Regions from separate parts of the Homo sapiens genome. Here regions 2 and 3 are each linked to region 1. Evidence: promoter capture Hi-C in human tissues and cell types (Jung and others, 2019). All regions are on one chromosome and are shown on one strand. Each heading gives the region's core, a stretch centred on a gene start or on the middle of the fragment in contact. The rest is flanking DNA. Distances are from core to core; before and after follow the strand shown. Region 1 holds the start of RIN1 (Ras and Rab interactor 1). Region 2 overlaps GAL3ST3 (galactose-3-O-sulfotransferase 3). Region 3 holds the start of RBM4 (RNA binding motif protein 4).

Region 1 (3,796 bases), core at 1-2,500:
GTGGCCGTGGAGCTGACCTGACCAGGCAAGGCTGCTGTCTCCATCCCTGAGCCGCCTGCCACCTCCCACTCCTGAAGATCCATCTCTTGGGGCTCCCCTGACAGAGAAGACAGCCGAAGTCAAAGCCACATCCTCTTGCTGATGTTGGATGCAGGCTGTCCGGCCTCAGGGCCAGGGAGCCAGTTTCCACTGTGCGGGAACTCTGAGTCAGACGTGATTATCTGGGGGTCTGTCCACCCTGGCTGGATCTGGAGGCAAGATGCCAGGCCCCCCAGGTGTTCTCAGGGCAGTTCTTGGTGTCTGCTTCTCAGATTCCAAGGACTGGAATTAAAACCTTTCCTGGGACTCTGGCGTGCCCTGTGTGTGTGTGTGATTTACCTTGCAAGAGAATCAGGGCTCCCGTGGGGAGCACCTGAACCAGGCCGACTTCTAGGGTGCCTGCAGATTGCCACTCCTCACACTACCCAGCAGAGGCTAGAGCACTGTGCGTGGGGCCAGGCTGGGGAGGGGGAGGTGGGCGCTGGGCTGCCTGGCGCTGGGCAGAGTCAACATATGGCACCGGGAGAGTGCCTCGGCGGGGAGGGTGGATGCGTGTGCTTGGAGCCTGGGTCATGTCTGCACCTGTCCCAGTTGCCTGGCAGATTGGCAAGGCAGGCTGGCAGAGCCTGCGTGCGTGGGAGGCAGCCGGCAGCACCGCCATGTGCTGACGACCTCACAGCCAGACTCCCCCTGGTTAGCACTGAGTGTCAGAACCACCCCCAGAACCTCAGTTAAGCAAATAGGTTGGTTTCCATGGAGACATGGCATATTTTCTCCATGGCAACCTAAAATCCTAAAACCCAGGTTCAGGAATGAGTCATCTATGGACAGTAGAGGGTGCTCTCCCACAAGGCTGACCTGAGGCCAGGGGCAGATGAGCAACTGACCACAGAGCCAAAGGTGCCCCCAGAGCATGGCTGGGGCCTGTGGGGACTGAGGCCGCTTAACCACTTCCCGCCCACGTGTGCAATGTGAGTAGCTGGTGAGGCTGCAGGAGGCCGTGTGTGGAGGTGGCATCCCCCAGCTGGGGCCCTCAGAGCAGGGCTAGCATGGAGGGGACCCCTGACCCCCAAAGCAGGGTCCAGAACAGAGGAGGCGGGCACTGGCCAGGCAGGGTGGACACACAAGAGTTAACTGGCGGGTGTGACAGGCGGACCGCCCTCAGGAAGTGTTACTCACTGGGGATGTGCGTGCCTTGCCTTGGGACTGGATTCTCTTCCTGAAGCGAAGGAGCTCCCAGCCATGGAAAGCCCTGGAGAGTCAGGCGCGGGCTCTCCTGGAGCCCCCAGCCCGTCCAGCTTCACTACTGGGCACCTGGCGAGAGAAAAGTTAGTGAAGTTGGCAGGGCAGCCAGGTGGGGCAGGGAGGGGCTGCGAGAGGAGGGCCTATCCGGGGATAGAGAAAGTGGGAAACCCGGGAGTGGGGAAGAGGAGAGCAAGGGTCCCAGCCCCTGGCTCCCTGCTCAGATCTGGGTGCCTGCCCCCAGGCCAGCCCAGGACCCACTGTATGACGTGCCCAATGCCAGCGGCGGGCAGGCAGGCGGGCCGCAGCGGCCGGGGCGCGTTGTGAGCCTGCGGGAGCGCCTGCTGCTCACCCGGCCCGTGTGGCTGCAGCTGCAAGCCAACGCAGCGGCCGCACTGCACATGCTGAGGACCGAGCCCCCGGGGGTGAGTCTTGCCCCACACTCCAGGGACTGGCCAGCCAGGGGTGGGAGGGAGAGGGATGGGACGCCAAGGTCCTGAGCTGCCTGAGCCCTATCCACTTGCAGACGTTCCTCGTGCGGAAATCTAACACCCGCCAGTGCCAGGCCCTGTGCATGCGGTTGCCTGAAGCCAGTGGCCCCTCCTTCGTCTCCAGCCACTACATCCTGGAGAGCCCTGGCGGTGAGGGGCTGGCCTGGCGGGAAGGGGCTGGAAGCAGGGAGGTTCCCCAGAGAAGCACCTCACTTCCCTCCTCTCTCAGGCGTCTCCTTGGAGGGCTCGGAGCTCATGTTCCCAGACCTAGTCCAGCTCATCTGTGCCTACTGCCACACCCGGTGAGTCTGCCCGCAGGGTGCCTGGTGTCCACGGGCCCTGCTCCTTGGGACAGCCCATCCTTCCCGCCCTCTTCGGCCCTCACTCCCTTCTGCTCCCCTCTCTGGCCTCAGGGACATCCTTCTCCTCCCGCTGCAGCTCCCCAGAGCCATCCACCACGCAGCCACTCACAAAGAGCTGGAGGCCATCTCCCATCTGGGCATTGGTAAGGGCTTCCTGCCACCCATTGCACAGATGAACAAGCTGAGGCCGAGGGGAAGGCAAGGCTCGCAGCACACCGCCCGAAGCCCCTGCCTTGCCTTGGTTGGGAAACTTCCCCTAACCAGTCCCGGAGGCCCCAGTCGGTTTCTTGTTCCCTAGAGTTCTGGAGCTCCTCCCTCAACATCAAGGCTCAGCGGGGCCCGGCTGGAGGCCCAGTGTTGCCCCAGCTGAAGGCCCGGTCCCCTCAAGAGCTGGACCAGGGCACCGGAGCCGCCTTGTGCTTCTTCAACCCCCTGTTCCCGGGGGACCTAGGGCCCACCAAGCGGGAGAAATTCAAGAGAAGCTTCAAAGTGCGCGTGTCCACAGAGACCTCCAGCCCCCTGTCTCCACCTGCCGTGCCACCTCCCCCCGTCCCCGTGCTGCCAGGGGCAGTCCCCAGCCAGACAGAGCGGCTGCCCCCTTGCCAGCTGCTACGGAGGGAGAGCTCAGTGGGGTACCGCGTGCCAGCAGGCAGTGGCCCTAGCCTTCCGCCTATGCCCTCCCTCCAAGAGGTGGACTGCGGCTCCCCCAGCAGCTCCGAGGAGGAGGGGGTGCCAGGGTCCCGGGGGAGCCCAGCGACCTCACCCCACCTGGGCCGCCGACGACCTCTGCTTCGGTCCATGAGCGCCGCCTTCTGCTCCCTACTGGCACCGGAGCGGCAGGTGGGCCGGGCTGCGGCAGCACTGATGCAGGACCGACACACAGCCGCGGGCCAGCTGGTGCAGGACCTACTGACCCAGGTGCGGGCTGGGCCCGAGCCCCAGGAGCTGCAGGGCATCCGTCAGGCGCTGAGCCGGGCCCGGGCCATGCTGAGTGCGGAGCTGGGCCCTGAGAAGCTGCTGTCGCCTAAGAGGCTGGGTGAGGCTCCGTCTCTCCATAGCTCCAGCACTGCCCCATCCGACCCTCTGCTCCCCTCCACAGCGCCAGCCTGTCTGATTCTGTTCTGCTGCTTTACAAATCCATCTTGTCTTACCACTGTTCGAGAGAGTTCCATCCCCTCTCTCCCCCAACTCTTCCGTCTCACCCAGGCTACCTCCTCCTGCTTTCCTTGCCTCTCCTCCCCGATTCTACCCCTGCTCCCTTCTCCCCTTGCCTCTGCCCCCCATACCCCCAGTCTTCCCCTGACCCCTCCCTGTCCCTCCGGCAGAACATGTCCTGGAGAAGTCATTGCATTGCTCTGTGCTCAAGCCTCTCCGGCCCATCCTGGCAGCCCGCCTGCGGCGCCGGCTTGCCGCAGACGGCTCCCTGGGCCGCCTAGCTGAGGGCCTCCGCCTGGCCCGGGCCCAGGGCCCCGGAGCCTTCGGGTCCCACCTGAGCCTGCCCTCCCCAGTAGAGTTGGAGCAAGTGCGCCAGAAGCTGCTGCAGCTGCTCCGCACCTACTCACCCAGCGCCCAGGTCAAGCGGCTCCTGCAGGCCTGCAAGCTGCTCTACATGGCCCTGAGGACCCAGGAAGGTATGTCCCTGCCACCACCTCACCCTGCCCT
Region 2 (4,225 bases), core at 343-2,842, 290 kb after region 1:
TCTCATCCACCAGGGGGCGCAGCTCAGCTGGTAAGGGGGCGGGGCCCCAGGGGGGCCGGAGCTCCCCTCCCCATTCTTCCACCTGCTAGAAGGGTCCTGCTAGGCTTTGCTCCTCCCCTCTATTCTGAAAGTGCTTTCCCTTTAGGGCCACACAGCCTCCCTGGACAGGGACTGCTCTTCAATGAAAGGGCTGAGTGACTTGCTCAAAGTTACAGAATCAGTTAGCTGAGATCCGAATCCAGCTCAACTCCCCACAGCATGCAGCTAAGCATTTCCCCAGTGGAAACAACTTCTCACAACTTCCGTAGTGCTGGGCAAGGCCAAGTCCCCTCACTTCTCCGAGCCCCCGTTTTCTCATCTATAAAGTGAGACATGATATGTGTGACACAGCCAGTCACCCTCACACAGGATACCATGTGATTCATGGGAACCCCAACCCTACTCCTGACTCACTGTGTGAACCCAACAAATCCCTGCACCTCTCGGAGACTTCATGTCCCCATTTTCTACACTGTCTGCCCCTGAGAATGGTGTGAATGCGCCCAGCCCCCCTTGCCAGATAATTTGGTTTGAAATCCCAAACACCCATGTTTTAAGAATGAAGCAACAGAAATGAAAGCTTCACGAGGGCTAGGATTGTTTTTGTATATTACTGTATTTCTTGAACCTAGCATTAACCTGGCACATAGTGGACACCCAAAAAATATTTGATGACTGAATTAATGAGGCTTTAGAAGCCTCAAGAGAAACATAACAATGGGTTGCTGCAAAGCCCAGTGCCAACCATCTACAAAGTGAGGAGCCAGTTAAAGAGTAAAAATGAGAAAGAGCAAAAGGATTTAGTGACCATGTGAGTCGTCTCCAGACTTTGTGTAAGTGATTGTTCTCCTTTTGGCCCTCAGTTTCTACATATACAAAGTGGGATTCCTCAAAGATCTCCAGGGGTCTTTGTCCCTTATTTATTTCTACATAAACAAATTATCTTAAAGCTTAGCAGCTGAAAACACAAACATCTGTTATTTTGGGTCAGGAAGCCAGGTGTGGCTTACTGGGAACTTCTGGACCAAGGTCTTTCATGGGGTTGCAACCAAGGTGTTTGCTGGTGATGCAGTCTCATCCGAAGGCTTGATTGGAAGGGATCAGCTTCCAAGCTCACTCACGTGGTTTTGACAGGCTTCAGGTCTTCAAGCCGGCTGGTGGACTGAGGGCCTTAGGTCCTTGTGGGCTTTTCCCACTTAGTGGTAGCTCCCTATAGGGCTGCCCACTATATGGCAGCTTGCTTCCCCCATCATCTGTCATCCCAGATTGAGTGAAAGACACCAAGATACTAGCCAGCCACAGTCTTTCTATGATGAAATTTAAGAAGTGACATCCCATCATTTCTGCCCTCTTCTCTTCTTTAGATGCAATGATAAGTCCAGCCTAACTCAGGTGAGGGGAATACTCAAGGGCATGAATACCAGGAGGGCAGCAGGGATCATAGAGGGCATCTTAGAGGCTACCAAGCACCGCCCTCGACCTTTCCATGAGTGCAGCCCAGGCGGGGCCGCGCTGTGGGGCATCCCACAGTCCTTGGGTAAGGGCAGGGGTCAAGCGGCAGCCCCCTCACACCCTCCTCTCCGCACACTCCCTGGGCCTGGCAGGTACCCCAAGCTGTTCCCCTTGAGCTGCCCTCCTCTGCGGAACTCGCCGCCGCGCCCCAAGCACATGACTGTGGCCTTCCTGAAGACTCACAAGACGGCAGGCACGACGGTGCAGAACATCCTGTTTCGCTTTGCCGAGCGCCACAACCTGACGGTGGCCCTGCCGCACCCGAGCTGCGAGCACCAGTTCTGCTACCCCCGCAACTTCTCGGCGCACTTCGTGCACCCGGCCACGCGGCCGCCGCACGTGCTGGCCAGCCACCTGCGCTTCGACCGTGCGGAGCTGGAGCGCCTCATGCCGCCCAGCACCGTCTATGTCACCATCCTGCGCGAGCCGGCCGCCATGTTCGAGTCGCTCTTCAGCTACTACAACCAGTACTGCCCGGCCTTCCGGCGCGTACCCAACGCCTCGCTCGAGGCCTTCCTGCGCGCGCCCGAGGCATACTACCGCGCTGGCGAGCACTTCGCCATGTTCGCACACAACACGCTGGCCTACGACCTGGGCGGCGACAATGAGCGCAGCCCGCGCGACGACGCCGCCTACCTGGCGGGCCTCATCCGCCAGGTGGAGGAGGTTTTCTCGCTCGTCATGATCGCCGAGTACTTCGACGAGTCGCTAGTGCTGCTGCGGCGCCTACTGGCCTGGGACCTGGACGACGTGCTCTACGCCAAGCTCAACGCGCGCGCCGCCAGCTCGCGCCTGGCCGCCATCCCCGCGGCGCTGGCGCGGGCGGCGCGCACCTGGAACGCCCTGGACGCCGGCCTCTACGACCACTTCAACGCCACCTTCTGGCGCCACGTGGCGCGCGCGGGCCGCGCGTGCGTGGAGCGCGAGGCGCGCGAGCTGCGCGAGGCCCGCCAGCGCCTACTGCGGCGCTGCTTCGGGGACGAGCCACTGCTGCGGCCTGCCGCGCAGATCCGCACCAAGCAGCTGCAGCCGTGGCAGCCCAGCCGCAAGGTGGACATTATGGGCTATGACCTGCCCGGCGGCGGCGCCGGCCCGGCCACCGAGGCCTGCCTCAAGCTGGCCATGCCCGAGGTCCAGTACTCGAACTACCTGTTGCGCAAGCAGAAGCGCCGGGGCGGTGCGCGGGCTCGGCCCGAGCCCGTCCTGGACAATCCCCCGCCTCGGCCCATCCGAGTGCTGCCTCGCGGCCCTCAAGGTCCCTGAGCTCCGCAGGCCTCCAGGAGTATGGGTCCTGCCCTGCCCTCCCAGGAGTCCAGCCAGGGGCTGCCTCCATGTCCTGCCCCCATGAGAGCCCTTTCTTTTCAAGGGGCTTGAGTCCCTCGCTGAACTTTGGGGTACGCCTCCCTATCTGAGCCCCCGCTCCCGATCGTGGGCTGAACCTTGCCTTCGGGCACGGCGCTGATAGGCTGGATCCAGCGCTGGGCCACCCTCTCCTTCCCAGCTGGTTGGTGATTTTGACAAGAGGCCTGAGGGCTGTCCAGAACTGCTCACCCTGCCTTTTTCTGGGGGCTGAGCCCCCACAACCTGTCTTTTCCAAGTGGATAAGCCCAGGCCCCATGGAGAGAGGCTCAGCCCTAGGGAAAGGCTGCTCTTGCTCTCCCTCCCAGGGCTTGAGGCTCCCTATACTTTTCTGTCTTCCAGGTTCTACCCTCCCCACAGACCTAAGCTGCTCCCAGTCTCCCAGAACCAAGAGTTCTTGGGTTGGGATTTTTGTTTGGTTGGTTTTTCTTTTTTTTAATAAAACATCTTTAAAATGTGCGAGTTGTATGTCAGTCATAGAAGCCGGATTCCCCACATTTGAGGATGAAACGGATGCCCAGGAGGAGCTGTGGCTGGACCCATGAGGATGGGGGCCTGGACTCAAGGTCCCCCGCCACCTGGCATAGGCCTACAACCCTCCTCAACCGCTTGACCGACTGGGCCCCCAACACAGACTGGCCACCTTAGCCCCACTCACTTTCCACATCGTTCTTTTTCACAAAATTCTGCGACATTTACTGAGCATCATCTCTGTAACTTGGGGATACAGGTGAACCAGATAGATAGGGCCTTATTTTCATGGAGCTTATGGGGAAACATTGGAACAGGAGCAAGACAGGTAAGCAAAGAGGAAGGACTGGAGGGGTTAGAGCACAACACCTCTTTGGGTGGAAGGAGGATCATTTTCAGATAAGGAGCTGCCTAACTCAGAATTTGACCTCCTCCTGTGAATCACTGACTTCACTAATGGCCTGCTTTCCTCACAAGAAGACAACTTGGACTCAGATGAAGACCAGTCCCTTTCTGCAGTTTCCTTTAACACAGCAAGATAGCCAGCACTTCCAGGTGAAATCTCCCTTAAGACTAGCAGAGAATTGGAACTTTTTCTGTTACTTTCTTCAGAGCTATATCGACGTATCTGGACAAGTGATAAAAAACAATAGCTATTATGGTCTACGGTGTGCCAGCCACTGTTTAAGGGCTTTATGTATGTTAACTTTGGAGATGGGTGCCGTTTTCCAGGTGAGGGAACTGAAACTTGGGGGAAATTAAGTCAGGGTCACACAGCCAGAAAGTGGCCACTAGGATCTCAACCAAGGCAGTGTGGCTTCAGAGTTTGTGCTCACAAGTGCTG
Region 3 (4,731 bases), core at 1,835-4,334, 300 kb before region 1:
AGTGGTAAACACACAATTTTCCTTGCAAAATTAATGTTAGATTCTGGGAGACCAGAAAACACAATAGGGAAACGGGGGTGGAAGGAACAAAATATCAAGGAGGTCTACACAGCTGGAAGTTTAGGTTGCAGGTTATTAAAAGAGAGTAGATATGCAATTATGCACTTAAGTGCCTTAAAGTGCTAGCTTGTCTCTGGCATTTGCCCAGGGGGCCACTTTGGCACCTAACAAAACCAGAGAAAACAAGTGCAACTAAGCAAGCAACTATGCACATTCCAGACATAAAGATCATTAATAAACGCCTTAATCTAAGGATCTGTTGGTTCTAACGCCAGAAAAAGAAGTTAAATTTTAAAAAATATCTAAAAGAGATTTTAAGTGGGCAAGCAATAGAGAAGATACCCAACACTGAGAAACGGAAAGGAAAAAAGACCACCCTAATAACTACTGCTCATCAATATACATCTATAATTCTACCAGAACAGTATTAAGAAATGAGAAACGCCAATATTACATAAAATAAGGTAAAAATAACTAAGCATAGGTTAGTGTCAGGGGACCTAGGGTTCAGACACCCAGAGTTTTATATAAGGATAATTTGTCCTGAATCAAGACCACACTGTCCTCTCCTTAAACCTAACTGCTACAAGCAGACACCACCTCTTCTGACTGGGCTGAAGTGTGGGAAACAGTCCAAAAATTAGGTATCACACCATAAACCCTCCACAAGAGCAACCTTTGCTCTCAATTAAGTTGTTGACAAAATAATTCTCAACTTGCCAATTAAAAAAAAGAAAGCAAACTAGACCTGAGAGACCTGTGTCACTTTTCTTTACTAACGCACAGCAATGCCCATGACACAGGGCACCCATTACTAGGGGAAATAATGATCAGACTCTCAGCTCTAAAAAAGCCCAATTTAAGGGAAATGGACGCCAAAGGCAGCAATGACTCTTAACAAAGGTAGTACCCAGAAAAAGAATCGGCAAACTACACTGTCAGAACACAGGTTTGAAATATAGCAAGGAGTCACGGAAATACTCCATAATTTGAATAAGGCTTTTTTTATTTTTTATTATTTTTGTTCAGTCCTGCTTAATTAAGCTAAAAAAGGACACCACTCTTTTTGACACTGGGAACCCAAAGGAGGTGAAAGAAGAGTTCAGATAGCAACTCACCATGATCACCACCCCTGAACTGCCACTGTTGCTTCAGACCTCAGATTTTGGAATATTTGCGTTCTACGTACCATTTTAGCATCCCAAATCTGAAAATTCAAAATCCAAAATGCTCTAACAAGCATTTCCTTTGAGCAACATGTAGGCATTCAAAATGCTGGGGATTTGAGATGCTTCCAAATGAAGTGACAATCCACATATCACCCATGCTGCCCTCCAGGCACAAAAGATTCATTTGGTTAAGACTCCAAGATAACACAAATCTAAGTGCTCTATTCACCAAAATCTTATAAAGTCCAGCCCCCCAAACCAATGAAAAGACAGTCATTACCGCCCCTAAAACCCCAGTGCCTCCTCCCCAGGAAGTCCTAAAATCAGCCTTGTAATTCTAGAGTGGCCTTAAACTCAAAATACAATCCCTTGGTACAGGTATAATATAAAAGCAACAAGAGCTGTAACCCTTTAAAGAGTTTGTGTAAGGTAGGACAGCTTAACAAGGATTCTGGTCCTATAAGTGTCGCTTGACATGTTTTTGAGAGGTTCTTCACGTAAAATGCAGAATTCTGATCCTGTGCTGAGGGCAATAAATTCAGAGTGAGGAACTCTGAACTGTGCTCTACTACAAAAAAATAAAAAATAAAAAAGGCCCAGTAACTCAGAAAGCCTTCAAAGAAAAGGGTTTCTGCACTGATAAGCACAAAAGCCGTAGGGGCTCCAAATAAAAGGTGAGTGGCTTTTCTCCAGGAGACATTTGCCTAAGGTAAAGCCCCTAAGTCCCATGCATTCTACATCATAAGAAGTCCATCACCCACACTTATTTCTTCATCACCAGCCAGCCAACAGCTGTTATCTTTACCAAACCTCTCCTTTTACTTATCCAACCATTTTCTGCACACAGCCTTGTGTTCAGCCCTCTACCCAAAGAGGGTGGTTCACCTTGAAACTCTGTGTTATCAAGGCCCCTGATGGCCTCCACTGCATCCTCTGCCCGCTCCATGTGTACGAAGGCATAATCTTTCACGATGTCACATTCGATGACCGGACCATACTCCTCAAACTTGGCTCGAAGCTCCTTATTGGTGCAGGTGGGACTGATGTTGCCCACATGCAACTTTGTTGAGGTTTTGCTCTTATTCTTGCTGGCTTCCACGTTGATGTTCACCCCATGAAGCTTGTAATGGTGCAGGTTGCGTATGGCATCCTCAGCTGCCGTCTTGTCTTCTATGTGCACAAAGCCGTAATTCTTAATGATGTCACATTCCAGCACCTTCCCATACTGCTCGAAGAGTGAGCGAATCTCCTGCTCTGTAGCCTCCCGGGGCAGGTTTCCGATGAACAGCTTCACCATCCTGACAAGAGCCTGGGAGAGAAAAACAAGACATCTGACAAAAGACCTCAGGCCCACATCCGTTCACAAAAGACAACGACTTTCACTCTAATGTATATTTCCAGTTTTCTCTCTCACACGCCTGCACACACACCTCCACACAATAATCAAATGGAAGTGGGAGTGAACTAAGGCCTGCTATAGTAGCCGCCATGAACCTGTAAGAATAAGAAGACGTCTGCAATAGGGAGGTCCTTAGTAGACAAAGGGTTTGGTAAGAACCGATACCTTCCAACAGAAATGGGCATGAAAGACAGCATATGAAGAAATGGGGGTACTAGGCTTTTCTATCCACTAGGAGGACAACAGAAAACAAAAGTCTACTAGGCTTGCTGACTGCCTGCCTGAAATTATCAACAGGCTTTTCCTCACGTAGGAACCAAAGCAGCCATCATTTCCGGGAAAATGGGCCTTGTAATAGCTACATTTGAGTTTCCTTTGGAAGTAATGAACGCGCGACTCGGATCAGACAGCGAGGAGTGGGAGATAAAGGAAATACTGGAGTGGTGAACGCCTCTCTCGGGGCACCGTCCTAGCTCCTGCCGAACACTGAAATGCGCGGCCGCGGAAAAGAGCTTCAGATTCATTAACCAGACGATGTCTCACGGCCCGAGAAATTCCCGAAACGAGAATGTAACTGTCAGATATAAGGGAAAGGGGGTTATCCCAGTGGAAATCTCGAGGCTCCAAGAGCAGCCATGTCGGGCGCGGGACAGGGTGGGCGAAAAAAAGCAAGGTATTCTCAGGGGGCGGTGGGGGAAGGGCTGCTCCCGGCTTACCGCGCAATGCCGAGGACCGAGGTCGGCTCTCAGTGACGGGTGTGGAGACTGCGGACCTACCAGGACACCCCCGAAGCCCAAGGGAGTGAGAGAAGATTTAACACAGTACAAGAAAGGCAGTGGAAAGGCTCGGAGTCTCACCCGCACAGAAACCAGCAGGGCCTCCTCCTCGCGGCGCGGACGCTTCTGACAAAACGCTAAAATGGCGGCGGCCGCAGCAGTGCTCTGAGTAGAAGGGGGAGGTGAGCCTACAACCGGATTGGCCACTCAAGAAAGTAAAAGGCCGGCGTTCCCTCAGATCCTCTTCCTGATTGGTTACCACGGACGCCAATTACCTAAGAGGCCGGCAAGAGGTGGAAACGTCTGTAACCTCGGAGCTTTTATGCGAAAGCCAATGGGCACCAACCTCGCGAAGCCGAACTCGCTGATTGGGCAAGAGATCAGCGTGAGGGCGGACCTACAAACGTGGGCTTCGCCGGCGGGGTGCGGCCCGCCATTAGGCGGAGCGAGCTAGAGCCCCGGGGTAGCAGTCTTTAGCTTCATGGCGCCAACTTCGTTAAGCTTCCACATTTCGCCACCTCCACGTGCACAGCCAGACAGTATTCCGCGCTCCATTTTGCCGTTCACTCTAGGTGTCTCCCTCTAACCTCCCAAGCACCACCCCCCCTCGCGGCCAGGACGCTGTGGAAATAGCTTATGCAGGCACATGCCAGGGAAGAAAAACAACGAAGACCCCCCCCAACCCACCACCCACCACTTCAGGAAACCAACCTTCTCCTTGGGCCAGCAGTCCACACTGTAGCCTTGAGAGTCCCGGAGCTCCCCCAAAATCAAACCTCTCACAGGTGGTGAAAGGACCTCTGTAATGGCCTTCCAGAAGTAGGCCCGGCAGGAGGCTGCACTGTCCAGGAGACGCTGAGGACAAGTTCCCTCTGGGAACCAGCCTCCCAGGGTCCGCGATGAAGAAACCTTTCTGAGACCATGGAGATTTAAAGTATACCCCGACCCCACCCTGAGAAAAAACTGGAGCAGCAAAGGTTTTTTTGTTTTATTTTATTGGGCGCCATCAGCCAGAGCTGTTTTAATCCCCTAGAACCGACTTTAGAGGACAGAGCTTAGTCACAACCAGCTGTAAACAAAATACAAAGTAACATTCTCCAGAGGGTCCAGCTGCTGCCTCGTTTTCTCTCATCCTTAGGCTGCTTCATATTCATTAAGCAAGCAACTTTAGTCAAGACCCTTTGCGAAGCAGCTTTTGAAAAGGGTTAAAAGGTGGAGTGCAGGGACTGGATGGAAGAACTTATAACACGAACAAAACAGGCTAAAAGCAGTGCAGAGTTTATGAGGAAAGGGATCATCAGGAGTGAAGATGACACAAGTACCACAC

The links. The method cuts DNA at HindIII sites, captures the fragments that hold promoters and counts their contacts. A contact is called where the count stands out against the background at its distance.
Region 2: a fragment that was not itself captured here is called in contact with the fragment with the promoter of RIN1 in region 1 in 1 of the 25 tissues and cell types used here (pancreas).
Region 3: a fragment that was not itself captured here is called in contact with the fragment with the promoter of RIN1 in region 1 in 1 of the 25 tissues and cell types used here (dorsolateral prefrontal cortex).

The regions. Positions count from the first base shown.
Region 1 is chr11:66,333,888-66,337,683 of GRCh38, reverse strand. RIN1 (Ras and Rab interactor 1) reads left to right here and starts at 1,250. Exons shown (of 10, transcript NM_004292.3): 1 at 1,250-1,367; 2 at 1,526-1,706; 3 at 1,808-1,922; 4 at 2,002-2,074; 5 at 2,186-2,277; 6 at 2,433-3,170; 7 at 3,460-3,765. The coding sequence starts at 1,282. It overlaps BRMS1 (BRMS1 transcriptional repressor and anoikis regulator), which reads left to right. Exons shown (of 10, transcript NM_015399.4): 10 at 1-345. RefSeq lists an enhancer at 1-770. The HindIII fragment of the contact is 7,337 bases long and covers 1-3,307 here.
Region 2 is chr11:66,041,096-66,045,320 of GRCh38, reverse strand. GAL3ST3 (galactose-3-O-sulfotransferase 3) reads left to right here. Exons shown (of 3, transcript NM_033036.3): 2 at 1-30; 3 at 1,644-4,225. The coding sequence ends at 2,814. Among named protein-coding and RNA genes, the nearest start is that of GAL3ST3, 6.0 kb to the left of the region's middle. RefSeq lists a silencer at 1-38. The HindIII fragment of the contact is 5,576 bases long and covers 1-4,225 here.
Region 3 is chr11:66,637,507-66,642,237 of GRCh38, reverse strand. All of the region lies in intron 1 of RBM14-RBM4 (RBM14-RBM4 readthrough), which reads right to left. It overlaps RBM4 (RNA binding motif protein 4), which reads right to left and starts at 3,535. Exons shown (of 4, transcript NM_002896.4): 1 at 3,486-3,535; 2 at 2,115-2,538. The coding sequence starts at 2,526. RefSeq lists enhancers at 2,659-3,370, 3,237-3,606, 3,371-4,084. The HindIII fragment of the contact is 5,623 bases long and covers 273-4,731 here.